3 separate regions of the Homo sapiens genome follow, and regions 1 and 3 are each linked to region 2. The links are contacts of gene promoters, found by promoter capture Hi-C in human tissues and cell types (Jung and others, 2019). All regions are on one chromosome and are shown on one strand. Each heading gives the region's core, a stretch centred on a gene start or on the middle of the fragment in contact. The rest is flanking DNA. Distances are from core to core; before and after follow the strand shown. Region 1 holds the start of ODF2 (outer dense fiber of sperm tails 2). Region 2 overlaps TBC1D13 (TBC1 domain family member 13). Region 3 holds the start of CERCAM (cerebral endothelial cell adhesion molecule).

Evidence for each region. Contacts are between HindIII fragments. The study calls those that stand out against the background at their distance.
Region 1: a contact is called between the fragment with the promoter of ODF2 here and a fragment that was not itself captured in region 2, in 2 of the 25 tissues and cell types used here (dorsolateral prefrontal cortex and spleen).
Region 3: a contact is called between the fragment with the promoter of CERCAM here and a fragment that was not itself captured in region 2, in 4 of the 25 tissues and cell types used here (dorsolateral prefrontal cortex, hippocampus, lymphoblastoid cells and 1 more).

Annotation. Positions count from the first base shown.
Region 1 is chr9:128,454,655-128,457,354 of GRCh38, forward strand. It overlaps ODF2 (outer dense fiber of sperm tails 2), which reads left to right and starts at 1,352. Exons shown (of 21, transcript NM_001351578.2): 1 at 1,352-1,601. The coding sequence starts at 1,438. RefSeq lists enhancers at 425-1,161, 1,035-1,124, 1,162-1,897, 1,255-1,304, 1,898-2,633 and 1 more and silencers at 1,525-1,834, 1,965-2,064, 2,095-2,244, 2,455-2,504. The HindIII fragment of the contact is 20,941 bases long and covers 1-2,700 here.
Region 2 is chr9:128,807,370-128,810,069 of GRCh38, forward strand. It overlaps TBC1D13 (TBC1 domain family member 13), which reads left to right. Exons shown (of 12, transcript NM_018201.5): 12 at 445-2,700. The coding sequence ends at 510. Among named protein-coding and RNA genes, the nearest start is that of ENDOG, 9.8 kb to the right of the region's middle. The HindIII fragment of the contact is 3,371 bases long and covers 1-2,700 here.
Region 3 is chr9:128,419,545-128,422,244 of GRCh38, forward strand. CERCAM (cerebral endothelial cell adhesion molecule) reads left to right here and starts at 1,313. Exons shown (of 13, transcript NM_016174.5): 1 at 1,313-1,530. The coding sequence starts at 1,334. RefSeq lists a silencer at 699-1,598 and an enhancer at 1,859-2,048. The HindIII fragment of the contact is 34,497 bases long and covers 1-2,700 here.

The DNA of each region.
Region 1 (2,700 bases), core at 102-2,601, 350 kb before region 2:
CTGCCTCCTCCTCCCTAGTAGCTGGGATTACAGGCACACACCACCATGCCCGGTTAATTTTTGTATTTTTAGTAGAGACGGGGTTTCGCTATGTTGGGCAGTCTGGTCTTGAACTTCTGACCTTAGGTGATCCGCCTGCCTCAGCCTCCCAAAGTGCTGGGACTACAGGCGTGAGCCACCGCAGTCTTAAATGGTTAATGAGGATTAGGAAATCTATCAATTATTCAACAGAGAGACAATGAATGGATCAAGGGATTGGGGAGCTCCCTGACATTACAGAACAAATTCAGTATGCAGTATACTGTGAAAGCGAGGCGGAAAAGCAGGTTTTGTTTGCGAGTCTGACTTTAGGATTGCAGGTGAAACACTTGTGTGACCCTGGAGCTGTGTGGCTAAGGTGCTGCGGGGTCACTGGAGAAAGGTCAAGGGACTGTGGCCCAGTTGGCCCGGAGGTGGTTCAGGTCTCCCAGATTCCAGGGCGGCATTATGAGCCACGTGACAGACCTCCCCTGACTGGCTGACAGTGAAGCATAATTGAGAAGATGGCGGACCAGCAAGGACCTCATCAGAATAGGTCTGTACACAGAGCGGCATAGAGAGTGCAGGAGGGTAGTAGACCGGGCGCGGAGGCTCAAGCCTGTAATACAAGCACTTTGGAAGGCCGAGGCGGGTGGATCATGAGGTCAGGAGATGGAGACTATCCTGCCCAACACGGTGAAACCCCGTCTCTACTAAAAATACAAAAAAAAATTAGCCGGGCGTTGTGGCGGGCGCCAGTAGTCCCAGTTACTCGGGAGGCTCAGGCAGGAGAATGGCGTGAACCCGGGAGGCGGAGGTTGCGGTGAGCCGAGATCGCGCCACTGCACTCCAGCCTGGGCAACAGAGCAAGAATCTGTCTCAAAAAAAAAAAAAAAAAAAAAAAAAAAAAAAAAAAAAAAAGTGCAGGAAGGTAGTGAACAGAACAGCAAGGGGAATGCCGACCCTTTCTCCTGTTGGGGCCAAGACAGAGGCGATGTGGGCAGGGGAGAGGCCGGGGAATGCGCAGAAGCCGACTCCATCTCCGCATTAATAGTGGACTAGGGGCAGGGCTGGATTTTCGGAGGCAGTGTGCAGCTCCCAATAACTAGTTCCATGGGTCCTCTGTGAGCCTAGTTTCCTGGTGGGTACCGAGGGGAGGGCGTCGGAACCGTACGCTCCTTTGAGTGAGGGGAATCCGGGAGGATCCAAGGCAGGGGAAACAGGGCCGAGCGGGAAAGGCCTTGAATGGGGGGCGAGACCCGGCCAGGCCCGCTGGACGCGTAGCACGTCTCCTTGGTGACGGGACGCGTGGCCCGGAAGTGGGCGGCCCTTCTGGCGGGGCGGGGCATCTCTGTGACGCTAGGGGCTGGGCCTCGATGGCGAAACCCAAGCGGCTCCCGGGGGGGTTTGAACTGGCCAATGGGCGAGCTGCCGACCGGGTGTCGGAAAAGGAGGCGGAAGCGGGGAGGAGCCGCTGCCAGAGCCAGACTGCATCCGCCGCGGCGTCTCCATGGCACGACCCTGGCCTCCGACTTCAACGACTTCATAAGGCGGCGTTTCTGGGCGCAGCCGTGTCGCTCCTGGTGAGAGGCCGCCGGCAGGCGGGATCCAGCGCCCTCCGGGGCACCGCGGGCGAGACCGTCGCCTTCGCACCCCCGGCGCGGTCGACCCCGCGGGGCCGTCGGGTCCTGGGTTCCCCGCCGCGTTGCGCTCGTCCCCCTCCTGTCAGAACCTGGGCCCCCGCCCCGCCCACCGGCGCGGGGCCTCTCCTCCTCCCGCTAACGGGCGGTCGGCCGCCTCCTTCCTCTCTTGGCTACCACGGGGCTCTGCCCCTCCTCTGCCGCCCGCGGGCAGGGCTTCACCTTTCTCTCTATGGGCAGAAACCGGTACCCTCCTGCCTGCTGGTGGGTGGCCGTCCCTTCTCTCCGCCGACAGAGGCTCTCCCTCGCTCTGCTGCCCGTCGGCGGCATCGCCCCGACCGCCTCGTCCTCTCCTCGGGCCTCCACATGGCAGTCACTTGTACGCCCTCCGTAGGCAGCGCTGTCCCCCGGGCACCGTCTCCGGCTTGCCAGGGCCCTCGCCCGGCGGGGGGGGGTCCCGCCCGCCCCCTCCCAGCCCGGCGTCTATCCTGCTCAGAACTCTGTTCGGTTTTCCCTCGCGGCGGGGCGCCCGGGGCCCGTGCAACCTCCGCGCCTCCCTCCTTTAAACACTATTGGTCCTCTCGGGCATCTGTTCTTCCGTAACGCCCCTTCTCCTAGGAGACAGTTGTCCGGCCCCGCCCCAGCATCCCCGCGGCTCCCTGCGCGGTTCTGGCCCTCTGGGGCCCACTTGGGGCCGAGCGGTTCTCACCCGCCCTCTCCGCACGTCCGCCGGCGCCTCAGGTTTCCCCCGGTAGCCACCGGCAGTCCTCCGCGTGGGACCCGGGCGCGGTGGTCCTTTCCCTCGCGGTTCTGCCCCGTCCCCTCCCCTTCCTCCCCTCTGCCCCCAGGTCGCTCAGCCTCTACTATTTCCCCCTACTTTGGCAGGACAGTTGCTGTGCGACTTGGACAGTAGAGGAGCGCCTCCCAAGTTTTCATCCAACTGCCAACCCCAAAGCTTCCACCCTTCTCCCCTCAGAGAGGACGTTTGATGCCGGGCCCCTTGAGAGGCTCATTGACAAGCCTGCCCCTCTGGGTCCCCCTG
Region 2 (2,700 bases), core at 2-2,501:
AGCCACCAAGCCCAGCCTAGAGTTGCTTTTCCCTAACTTCATGGACCAGATCTGGAAAAAGTGCAGAATCACAGTGGCCACTCACAGGGCTGTTGGGACTTCGCGCTGATGCTCAGACACTGGCCCAGTCCTACTGGCTCCACACGAGGGAGCTCGGGTTCAGTGGCAGTAGTGGGAGAGCTGAGGCAGCACGGTCTGGTCCTGAGGAAAGGGCCGCAAGAGCCTGGGAGTGGTTGTGTTTGGATCGTTGAGTTGGTGCTGCATGGTGTAGCGTCAGCTGCATGCAGGGGTCTGGGGGTTGGGGAGTGTGGGATGCCTGGTGTTCTGTGCTCCTGCCCCTGAGGCCCAGGATCCAGCATGGCAACGGGTCCCAGCAGGGAGGGTGTGGGTGTGGCAGGGGTGAAGTGGCTTCAGAGGCAACTGTTGGCCTTTTCCTGTGCCCAGGACTACCCCATCACAGATGTCTGCCAGATCCTGCAGAAAGCCAAGGAGCTCCAAGACTCAAAGTAGCCCGGCGGCAAGAGGCCCATGTTCCGGAGAGAAGCCTCCCGACCCTGTGCCCTGGCTCCCGGGACACATAGAAACCTGTAGGAACCCAGCCTGAGGGGAAGCCACAGGATCGGCCCGAGACCCAGGCCATGCCCACTGGGGACACACTGTGCCGTGCTCCTTCTGCCGCCACGCCCAGCTCCCCACCTGCCCTGCACTCTGCCCTCTTTGCCCAGGATACTGAGGAGGGCTGGAGCTCGGGAAGTTGTCCTTCCTGGGCCAGGGCCGTTTCTGGCACTGGGAGGCTGGCAGGGGCCCCTCCCTGCCTCGGCTCTGCCGCCCCAGCCTCAGTTCCTGCTTCTGGTCTTCTCCTGGGCTCCACTCAGGGGAGGTGCTTGGCCAATGGGCCAGAAACCGCTTCTGAGCGGGGCACTTCGGCTGCTCCACAGGGAAGGCGACACTGAAAGCTGAGTCCTGCCGTCTGTCTCACCCACAGATGTCTGTAGTCGGTCGGTGTGAATGTGGGCCCAAGTCCCCAGGCATCTTCTCCGTGTGTGTGTGTGTGTGTGTGTGTGTGTGTGTGTGTGTGTGTGTGTGTTAGGGAGTGAGGGTCTCTCAGGCCTCCAGGTCTCCCAGCCCCTCCTTCTCTGTCTCTACCTCTCTGCCTGTCTCCTTCCACCTCCTTCCCAGAGTGGGACTGTGTCTTGCTTCATGATTCCTCTCTCCATTACTCTCCCTGCCCTTCTCTGTTGGGGTGCCTTATCCTGAGCCACCTCCTCTCCCCGCTTGCCTCTGCTCCCCTGAACCTGGGAGACAGATGAGGAGACTGGCTCAGCAAGGCCCCTGGAGGTCAAGCTTGGCCTTTGCCTCCTGTTCCCATCCCCCAGCCCTGGCTCCTAGGTCCTCCCAACTGGGAGGGAGTCCTCCGTGCCTCACTTAGAGGGTTCTGAACCCGTTCCCTACACAGAAATCTTGGAAACCAAATGCTGCTGAGTAAGGATGAAGCTTTGAGCCTCCTGCCCCTGCTTTCTGCCCAGGGAGGGAGAAGGAAGAGGGGGAGCTGGTTTTTCTGGAGGTTCCCCCAGAGGCCCTCCTGTCCGAAAAGAAAAGGACCTTGATTCTGAGCCCAGGGTCGGAACCCATTGCTTCAGAAGAGTTGTCATTCCCTCGGCTTCCAGGTCCCAACCCAGGGTTGGGTTGAGTGAGTCCCACAAAGGGCAAGTGGGGCCCGAGGAAGCCTCTCTGGGGCCAGGGGTAGCTGAGCTTAAAGGCCCTGGGTCCTGCCAGTTCCAGGAGGGCCATGTCTGTGCCTCTGTGTACCCCTCCACCCGCTGCGGGCTGAGGGAGGTGCAGGGCCTTCTCTGACCCCTGCCTGAGCTGTTCCCAGGGCTGGAGCAGGTGTACCCTGAGCAGGGGCAGCTGGCCACTCCCAGTTCTCACCAAGTCACCTCCCTCCTTGTACAAGGTTTGCGTCCGGAAGCCGGGTGCCATAGTGAGGACCCTCGTCCTCCAGACTGGCTGGCAGGAGTCAGGCCCCAGCAGCCCTCCTGCCCCCAAAGCTTTCCGAGTCTGGTGGGCAGGACTTCTCGCTGCCCTTCCAAGCCCGGCTTTGGGCCAGGAAAGGCTTCCCCAGGTGGCTCTTCTACCAGGCTTTTCCTTTGATGCCGCCTGGATTTCCGCACCTGCCTGTCTCCTCTCCCAGAGCACAGTATTTGGGAGACTTTGACTATTTATTCAGACTCCTGGCTATGTATTGCACATTGGCAAGTGCTCTGGGGATGAGGCATGGGTATAGGAAGGGAGAAAGGAGTTGGAGACAAGATCCTCTTCATTTTCCAAGATCAAAGTCAGCCTCTTCTCCCCATGCTTCTAGGAACTGCCTGGTTTTCGAGCAGGTCCTGGCTGAGCGGGCTCTGAGTTCTGTACTGGAATTGAGTGTAAAGATGGGAAGAGAACTGGGCTGACTCCAGGACCTCCAGGATGAGGCAGAGGCATGATGCTTCCTGCTCACCTGGGCCACCCTCTCTCCAGGACTTGTCAGCTGGTGGTTCAGCCCCTTCTCCAACCCCTTCATAAGCTTGGGCCACTGCCTGGGACCCAGCAGACACTGCCCAGGACTCTTTAGTGCACTCACTCTTGTCTGCCCCCTACCTTCCCTCCTGGAACCACACTACTTGAATCACCATTACTTTGCCTCGCTGGCAGAGTTGG
Region 3 (2,700 bases), core at 63-2,562, 390 kb before region 2:
CCCTGCAAACCCTCCCAGATGGGTGGCGTTATCAGCCCGATTTTACCCGAGAGGCTCCTGAGGGAAAGGGACCTGTCTGAGGTTGGTGACAGACACCCAGTTCGATCCCATCTGTGGTGCCGCCAGGCCGCTCCCTTTTCTGCTCCTCTCCCGAGAGGCTGCAGAGTTCTTTCCCTCCCAGCAGGGTCCTAAGGACCCCGGCGGTGCTCCAGGGGAGCCAACATCCCCTGCTTTGGAGGACGGACGGGTCGGGTCGCAGTGAGCAGCTCCGTGGTGTCCCCTAGTTCTACACTCAGACCAAGAGAGGGCTGTGAGGGCTGTGCTCTTTTTTTTTTTTTCTTTTTGAGACGGAGTCTCGGTCTGTCATCCAGGCTGTAGTGCAGTGGCGCGATCTCGGCTCACTGCAACCTCCGCCTCCCGGGTTCAAGCGATTCTCCTGCCTCAGCCTCCCAAGTAGCTGGGAGTACAGGCACCCGCCACGACGCCCGGCTAATTTTTGTATTTTTAGTACAGATGGGATTTCACCATCTTGGCCAGGCTGGTCTTGAACTGATCTCAGGTGATCCTCCCGCCTCGGTCTCCCAAAGTGCCGGGATTACAGGCGTGAGCTACCACGCCCGGCCTGGCTGTGCTCTCTTAAAGGGCCGAAGCAATGCGGGTGCTGGCGACCGACGCAAGGAGGTGACGCACAGGGGACTTAAGGAGCGGACCGCCGCGGGAGGACGCGCCCAGCTCAGGGGGACTCCCTCTGCGCCCCCCACGCTGGGTCTCCGGCCCACGCGTGGCCCGGCTGGTCTGCGGAGCTAGCGCCAGGGCCGCCAGAGGGCGCCCGGGGCGGAGGATGGGGCGGGAGCCGGGGAAGCCCGGGAGGTGGTGGCCGAGTGGGCGCCGCCCCTCTGGGTCTGCGGCTCAGGTCGAAGAGTCGGCTGCGTGGGCCGGGGAATCCGGATTCCGGGGGTTCAACGCCCAGGGGTTCCATGAGCCCCTACTGTTCTCGGACGCCCGGCCGGCCCCGACGCACTCGTCCTAGCACCCCTCCCCTGTCCGGTCCTCCGGCCCCTCCGCCGTCGCCCCTCCGGGGTCCAGCCGGGCGGGGCTGCTCCAGGGTCGCGGCTGGCGCGGGTCCCCGGGCCCTGGCCCTCCGGTGCCCCGGGCCAAGGAGAGAAAACTTGAGCATCCACGCACAGGGGTGGGGAGCAGGATCCCACTCTGAGGGTGCACTGCCCCGCCCTCTCCGGGTCTGCCTCGGCCCCGCCCGGGCCCCAGGCCCCGCCCCCTCCCCTCGGCCGGCCCGAGAGCTCCGGGGGCCGCTGCAGCCGCCCAAGCGCCCGCCATGCGCGCTGCCCGCGCCGCGCCGCTGCTCCAGCTGCTGCTCCTGCTGGGGCCGTGGCTGGAGGCTGCGGGCGTTGCGGAGTCGCCGCTGCCCGCCGTGGTCCTTGCCATCCTGGCCCGCAATGCCGAACACTCGCTGCCCCACTACCTGGGCGCTCTGGAGCGGCTGGACTACCCCCGGGCCAGGATGGCCCTCTGGTGAGAGACCCGGGCATTGGCACCGAGTGGGCACCTAACCCCCAGCTTCGCAGATGGCCCCCGCCCCCGGCGGCCCTGTCTGCTCGCTCCCTGCCCAGACACCACCTAGACAGGCCCCTCCCCTCACAGACGGCCCTGCCAGCCCGAGCCGCCAGAGAGGACCCCGAGCCCCCTGCTGGGAGACGACAGACCTCTGAGGCCACAGGCCGACGCGGGACACCCACCCCTCCTTCTGGTCCCCTACTCCTTCCTCTTGGGGCCTTCCCTGGGTGTAGGTTGGGCCCAGCCAGCCCTTTTCACCCCAGCCTTCAGGGCCCAGCTCAACCCCAGTGGGACCTGTGGTTGGCTGGATTTGAAGAGGAGCAGACAGGAACCTCTGAAGTCCACTGGGGCCCAACGTGGCAGGGATCGACCACGCTGGAGGCTTCCGGGCACAGGTTGGGGGTGCCATCAGCACTGGGCTCCGGGCTGTGCAGGGGAGTCAGACCGGCCCCCCCACCGCCCCCGTGCTGGGGCCAGCTCTCTTGGTAGATCTTGGTAGAGGGGCGGGATCCTGTCAGCCAAGGGCAGTCCCCCTTCCTGGAGCCTCTCCCCTCTGGCATCTCTGTACCCCCAGGGCACTGGGATCGAAGGCCACAACCCCTGGTCTGTAGACACCAGAACAGGGAGGAGTCCCTGGCTGAGGTTGGGGGTAAACTGAGAAAAATGACAAGCCACCCTCTTCAACACACCACAGTTGGGCTGGGGGGGTGGAGCCCTGGCCTGGGGAGGCCGCCCACAATTACCACAGTTTGGGAGTTTGTTAGTTCCCACCCCTGTAAGACTTGACACGTAGTCTTCATTTCTGGGGAATTGGCTTAAAGGGGCAGCATCACCCAAAACCTGGGCACTTGGCTAAACCCCCACCTCTGTTATGGGGGCCCCTTCCCCAGGAGAGGGGAGGCTGTGCCCCATGACAGCAGAGCTTGGACCCATCTGCATTCTTAGGGACGCTTAGAGCATGGTTTGGTCCTTATTACAACCTGGGGGTGGAGGAAAGCAGCAGCTCTTCTGTCTAGTCCCCATTCAGAGAGGGACAGGGGCTGGCCTGTGGTCACACAGCCACAGGTCACATAGGTAGGTATCTGCCCACCTAACGAAGGTAACCAGGGAATGCACCAGGTGTGATCC